Linked DNA regions of Homo sapiens: region 1 is linked to region 2. Evidence: promoter capture Hi-C in human tissues and cell types (Jung and others, 2019). All regions are on one chromosome and are shown on one strand. Each heading gives the region's core, a stretch centred on a gene start or on the middle of the fragment in contact. The rest is flanking DNA. Distances are from core to core; before and after follow the strand shown. Region 1 overlaps LOC105369657 (a long non-coding RNA gene). Region 2 holds the start of KLRK1 (killer cell lectin like receptor K1).

Evidence for each region. The method cuts DNA at HindIII sites, captures the fragments that hold promoters and counts their contacts. A contact is called where the count stands out against the background at its distance.
Region 1: a contact is called between a fragment that was not itself captured here and the fragment with the promoter of KLRK1 in region 2, in 1 of the 25 tissues and cell types used here (stomach).

The regions. Positions count from the first base shown.
Region 1 is chr12:10,529,483-10,532,999 of GRCh38, reverse strand. All of the region lies in intron 1 of LOC105369657 (a long non-coding RNA gene), which reads left to right. Among named protein-coding and RNA genes, the nearest start is that of LINC02446, 22 kb to the left of the region's middle. The HindIII fragment of the contact is 6,729 bases long and covers 1-3,517 here.
Region 2 is chr12:10,388,682-10,392,278 of GRCh38, reverse strand. KLRK1 (killer cell lectin like receptor K1) reads left to right here and starts at 2,238. Exons shown (of 8, transcript NM_007360.4): 1 at 2,238-2,336; 2 at 3,404-3,508. The coding sequence starts at 3,469. KLRC4-KLRK1 (KLRC4-KLRK1 readthrough) reads left to right here. Exons shown (of 13, transcript NM_001199805.1): 6 at 388-444; 7 at 3,404-3,508. The coding sequence starts at 3,469. The region is part of intron 3 of KLRK1-AS1 (KLRK1 antisense RNA 1); the gene reads right to left. The HindIII fragment of the contact is 5,458 bases long and covers 1-3,597 here.

The sequences.
Region 1 (3,517 bases), core at 387-2,886, 140 kb before region 2:
TAAGTACTTACCCCTGCCATTTTGTTGTTTGTTTTCTGATTGTTTTGTAGTCTCTCTCCCTTCTTTCCTTCCTGTCTTCCTTTTAGCGAAGGTGATTTTCTCAAATGTTATGATTTAATTTCCTTTTTATTTTATTTATTTTATTTTATTTTTTGAGCTGGAGTCTCACTCTGTCACCCAGGCTGGAGTGGAGTGGCATGAACTCAGCTCACTGCAACCTCTGCCTACCAGGTTCAAGCAATTCTTCTGTCTCAGCCTCCCAAGTAGCTGGAATTTCAGGTATGCACCACCATGCTTGGCTAATTTTTGTATTTTCAGTAGAGATGGGGTTTGTCATGTTGGCCAGGCTGGTCTCAAACTCCTGACCTCAGGTGATCTGCCCACCTTGACCTCCCAAAGTGCTGGGATTACAGGTGTGAGCCACAACACCTGGCCTGCTTTGTGTGTGTGTGTGTGTGTGTATCTGTTGCATGTTTTTGAGTTGAGGTTACCATGAAAATTGCAAATACTATCTTATAACACATTATTTTAACCTGATTACAACTTAATACTGCTTGCAAATACAAATGAATTAACAAGAAAAAGGAAACTCATAAAAACTCTGTTTTAACTTCATTTCCATGCTTTTTAACCTTTGTTGTTTCTCTTTATGTGTTATTGTACTACATCTTGAAAAGTTGTTGTAATTATTATTTTGATTGGTTCATCTTTTATTCTTTCTACTTAAGATGAGTAATTTACAAACCACAGTAACAGTGTTATAATATGTGTGTTGTTCTGTGTACTTACTATTACCAGTGAGTTTTGTACCTTCAGAAGATGCTTTATTGCTTATTAACATCCTTTTCTTTCTGATTGAAGTACTCCCTTTAGCATTTCTTATAGGACATGTCTGGTATTGATGAAATCACTCAGCTTTTCTTTGTCTTGGAAAGTCTTTATTCCTCCTTCATGTTTGAAGAATATTTTCACCAGCTATACTGTTTATGCCTATTTTTTTTCCCCTTCAACACTTCAAATATGCCATGCCACTGTCTCCTGGTCTGCAATGTTTCCACTGAAAAGTCTGCTGGAAGATGTATTGGAGCTCCATTGTATGTTGTTTCTTTTCTCTTGCTGCTTTTAAGATCCTTTCTTTATCCTTGAAATTTGAGAGTTTGATTATTAGATGGCTTGACGTAGTCTTCCTTAGGTTAAATCTGCTTGGTCTTCTATAACTTTTGTGGACTTGGATATTGATATCTTTCTCTAGGTTTGGGAAGTTCTGTTATTATCCCTCTGAATAAACATTCTACTCCTTTCTGTTTCTCTACTTCCTCTGTAAGGCCAATAACTCTTAGATTTACCCTTTTCATGGTATTTTTTAAATCCTGCAGGGATAACTTTAGGTTTCTAAAAAACTTGCAGAGATAGTGTAGAAGGTTCCCATAGATCCTTGAGTGAGTTTCACTTTCCCCTAATGTTATTGTCTTACATTACCATAAGATGATACATCTTACATTTGTCAAAACTAGGCATCCTATACTGGTATGTTACTGTTAACTGTGCTGAAAACGTCATTCAGCTTTCACCCATTTTTCCCATGAATGTCTGTCTTCTGTTCTAGAATCATATCCAGGCCTCCACATTGTATTTGGTCATTACATCTCCTTCATCTCCAAATTATGACCATCTTATTTTTTATTAAACACCTCAAGTAATGATAGACTCAGTATCTATACTTCTGGAAAACCAAAAATTTTTTAAAGTTTTTTTTGCATTATTGCTTCCATCAAAATGACATTAAAAATTGGTCACTAGAAAACATAAGAGAGTCATTTTGGTATTTTCTGTATAAAACATAACTCAACCATTATTTCATATATTCAAACTCATCCATTATTTCATATAAACCATAACTGACCATTATTTCATAACTGTCAGTTTAAAACAGGAAATACAATTAAAGATATGTAAAAATGCAAAATATGAGAAAAACAATCCCTATTTTTATTATATAATGTTTTGTTTTTGGTGACAGGTTTACTGAACTAAAGATTCTCCCTTTGCCTTAGAAGCTAAGCTACAGTCACCTAACTTTTACCAATTTAAAAATTTTAAAGATAGGTGAAAATAACAGTATATAGGAAATACACAATATTAAAAATAAAAAATAAAAACCTATTACCTCTTGGATTTTTGTTTTTGTTTTTGAAAAATCATTTCAAAATTTTATGCATGCTGCCTGCTATATTATAAAGTTCACATTAATTCAGCTATATCCTGATATCATTCTGCTGTGTTCTATTCATGTTATCATGAGCCTCTATCTCTCTCTCTTATTTTATGTGCTTATTCACTTATTTCATCTTGGGGTTGTATCTTGATTTCTATTAACTTTATTCTTTTATTAAATGTCATTTCAGTTTTTAAAAAATTTAATACTGGCTAGACTTGGTGAACATAAATATAATTTCAGTGGACATTAAAAGATAAACACAAGTTGAGGTAGAAAAGAAGTATAGGAAACAATTGAAGAAACATTAAAAATACATTGATATTTTTGGGTACAAAAGTGTGTGGGTGTTTTAAGGAGAGAGGAAAGCTTTGGGAAAATGGTCTTTATAATCAACCAATTAATAATAACCTCATCCTTTATTCAAAATAGTTACAAAGTTAAAATCCTTAAAAGAAAATAGATATGATATACCTATACTCTGACAATAATATTTTATAGATATTGTTGATAAAATATCTAAGCCTATATAGTTTGCTAGATTTTCAAGAACCTCTTATATTTATTTTATTTAATAAACCTTGAAGTTTAGTATTAAAATGCCAAAAACTAAAATTGTTAATAATTACCTGTCTTTGGTGGTTTGCCCCATACTTTTAGGGACAGGTGTATATCAGTTGCTCTATTAATATTAAATGATGATAAATGTAAGCCTATACAACTCTTAAAAAGAGTGGAAGCAACACATTCCTATAAATATGTTATGGACTAATTTTTAGAATCCATTTGACACTTGTTATGGTTCATAACATATACAAATGCTATTAAATGCATTCTGGTTAAATGATACATTTGGAACTGGGGAATTTGAGGTAAAAACATACATAGAGATGTACAGCAGCCAAGCAGAGTAACTAATGGCTGCGAACCTGGAATATCATAGTTCATGGGCGTGCTTAAAAACTGTTTACCTTTAAAAGAAAGTTCAATTGTCTGGAGAATTTCCAGGATGCATTGTCTGTCATAACTTTATTTAGTTAGAAACCTACTCCCTGAAAGCAATCAGTTGATTCCTAGTAGAGAAACAGAATAAGCCGAAGGCAAACCTACAAGAGAAGCAACTAGAGAATCTAGTTTTGTTACCACTATTTAGAAGGGGATAAGATAGTTTTGCTTTAGGGTAATGAGAGATGCATTCTCAAACCATGAAGAAGTGCCTTTGTAAAGAATTCAAATGGTGTAGCTGAAATAGAGATGAATTTCAGTTGTTATTACTGCACATTTCTAAGAAGGATTTTTAAG
Region 2 (3,597 bases), core at 989-3,488:
CAAATTATTCTTTCTGCAGAAGTTAATTGCGTTGGTTTTATTTCACTTATTAGAAAGTATTTTATCTGAAAACTATGCTATGTCCTTTTGCAATTCACATAGAATAAACCAGTACAAATGCCCAGCAAATCCCCAATAAGTTTACTATCATGACTACAGCAAAGTGAGTGTATGTTCAACATTGAGAAAGAAATTGGAGTTTTAACATACTATTTCTTTATCTAACTAATTGTTTTAACCCGACATACAGGACCCATTTTAGAATTTTCTTCTTTAAGAATCCTTTCCACACTCTGTCAGTTGGTTTAGGGACCTTTATATATGACAATAAAACTCTCCCTGGTGCTTAGCTTTATCATGGTATTTATTTCAGAAATCTTCTTTTAGGTATGTGTGGGGACTTCCCAGTTGGCTGTAAGTTGCCATTTGAACTAAACGAAATAGGTAGGATATTCAAATGTTCTTTTTTATCCTATTCCTATCCCCCTTTTCTCAATTCTGTATTTAAGAGACAATCTCTATTCAATCGAAAACTACATATATAAAAATAACTCTTCAGGAAATTGTGATTCAGGTTTTTCCCATAAAAAGCCTGCATTTACTCATTTATTCATTTCCTTTCAAAAACCAAATATTTGTTAAAATGTAGTTGTTAGAAAATATCAGCCTATATTTCCTCTATATAGATCTATTTTTACTATATAAAATAGCTAATAGAAAATGTTGATTAGCTGAAAAGAATCTTGGTATGTCAGAAAATAACATATTTTCTTCAACTTGTTTTATATTCACCTATCTTGTTTAATTTTGAATTTGTTTTATACTTATTCATTTTATATCACCTAAACTAAAAAGTAATTTCCAGCTGGGTGTGGTGGCTCACGTCTGTAATCTCAGCACATTGGGAGGCTGAGGCAGGAGGATCACCTGAGGTCAGGAGTTCGAGACCAGCCTGACTAACATGGTGAAACCTCGTCTCTACTAGAAATACAAAAATTAGCCAGGTGTGGTGGCACATGCCTGTAATCCCAGTTATTCTGGAGGCTGAGACAGGAGAATTGCTTGAACCCAGGTGGCGGAGGTTGCAGTGAGCCGAGATCGCCCCGTTGCACTCCAGCCTGGACAACAAGAGTGAAACTCCATCTCTTAAAAAAAAAAAAAAAAAAAGTAATTAATTTCCATGTGGGCAAAAACTTTCTTTTGGATTGTTTACTTTGACATTCTCAAGATCTAGAAAAGTGCATAGCAAATAGCATTCGCTAAAGAAAAAAAATGTTGAATAAATTTATTGTCCAACTTTAACACATCACCACATGAAAGCTGTTTTCCTTCCTTATATTTCAGAGTTTTAAGATTAATAGCTTTGGTTTTTGTTAAAATGTTATAATGTGTTCATCTTATATTACTTTATATGATGTCTTATGTTAGTATTTTAAATTAATAAACATAAAATATATATTTAGCTTATCTTGTTCATTGGTATCAATTCATATATTATTCTTATGTATACTGGGGTATATATTTAAGTTTCTAATTCTCCTGCATATGATGTAGATATGACAGAGATGCAATTTCATGTTTTTTATATTAAAATTTAAAAATTCCCAGGACTAATTTTTTGTAACTTAAAGGCCAGTGTGATAGTAACCCAGGACAAATTATTGAATAGGAGCTAATTTCCCACTTTATCTGCAATGTTACCTTATATTTTTTAATCTATGCACATGACTTTTTCTTGTCTGTATTTTTACCCTTCTCAATTTGTCTATCTATGCCCCACATGCCACTTTGCCTTTATTAATACGGTTTTAACATAGGTCTTACTATCTAGTAAAACAAGGCTCCCACATTTTCTTCATCTTCAATTGTGACTTTCCTAGTCTTGACTTTTGTAATTTAATGTACATGTAGAATTCTGCTTTGTAAGTTCTACAACAAAACCTGAGGTATTAACTGGAATTGAATTGAATCTCTAAAATATTTAGGATTAAATGGCATCATTTAAATTCATCATTTTCAAATCCTAAAATGTTATTTAAAATAATGGCAAAACTACAATTACTTTTGCACCAACCTAACATTTATCCAACAATGGGTGGTCTTAACTCTTTTACCAAATTAACAATATTTTTGTAGTGATAAGGCGGAAGTACTGTGGTTTATGTTTTTCCACAGGAAGATGAGATTATAATATTTGTCACATCTTTCTCAAAGATAGAAATTCACTAAGTATCTCCACTTTCAATTCTAGATCAGGAACTGAGGACATATCTAAATTTTCTAGTTTTATAGAAGGCTTTTATCCACAAGAATCAAGATCTTCCCTCTCTGAGCAGGTGTGTGTATGTGTGTATGTGTGTGTGTTTATTATTCAAGATATGAGAAATTATATTTCAACCTCAAAAAAATAAAAATATTTACACTATAAGGTAATTCTAATTGTTTCTTAGATGCTTGAATAGAACTCCTGAGGATACGGAATGCTTATCATTTCTGATGTATATTCTATCACTGTATCTGATGATAGGTAATTAGGATATACTTATTGAAGAATCAGAAGTTGTAATATTACTATAAGAAGAAGCCTTGTCTCTAAGCAAAACTAGAAAAATGAATCTTTACATTTAGGATGAGAAGAATTGAGATTCAATTTAAATTGTCAAATTTTTGAGTTTTCTGATGCTGTAGGGGGCACTTACCTTTGATACACATCTTTACATGCAAGGTGAAACAAGTTATATCTGTGCTTTCCAACTATCATAATCAAATATGAAATAGCTTTTATTTTTGAAATCTAAGCACTATGCTTATTTATTAAATGGTTTTTTCTGGAAGCTCTGCTGTGCATTGCTAAGATGTTACTATATAAACATGTGAGATTAGTTTTGTTAATGATGATGGTGATGATAATTTGTTGATGATGATGATATGGGCACGTTGGATTAAAATGCACTAGAAAAGGACATTCAACAAAAGTGCATATAACTTACCTGAGTTTAGCTTGCAGAAAGAAAACTAAATTATTGCCAGATAAAATAAACAACTGGAAACACTTGATCTTAGCTAAAAGGCCAAGAAGCAATAAACGACTATAAACAGAAAACTGGGTGTGTTGTTATCTAATATCAGTAAAGTAAAATATTGGTATTAAATATCTCAATGTAGGTGAATTAATAGGTTCATTATATTGTTATGACATTTTGAAGTAATTGGCGATTATTTTACAACCAAGAGAAATGTATAAAATTAATTTTGCCTGGCTTTATGTGAATTGTCATTTCTATTCTTTTCTTAAAGGCATGCACAGGGGAAAAGTTTCTGCATTTTACTTTTCTATTCAAAATATTTTATCTCACCACGGGAAAGAGAACAAAAAACAAATGCCCAGTTTTATTTTATTCAGGAATCCTTTGTGCATTGAAGACTTTAGATTCCTCTCTGCGGTAGACGTGCACTTATAAGTATTTGATGGGGTGGATTCGTGGTCGGAGGTCTCGACACAGCTGGGGTATGTTTTTACCACATAAGTGTGTAGTTTTGTTTTTATACAATTTTAAGATACCAAGAATTTCATACAAGCATATAAGGCATAGGCAA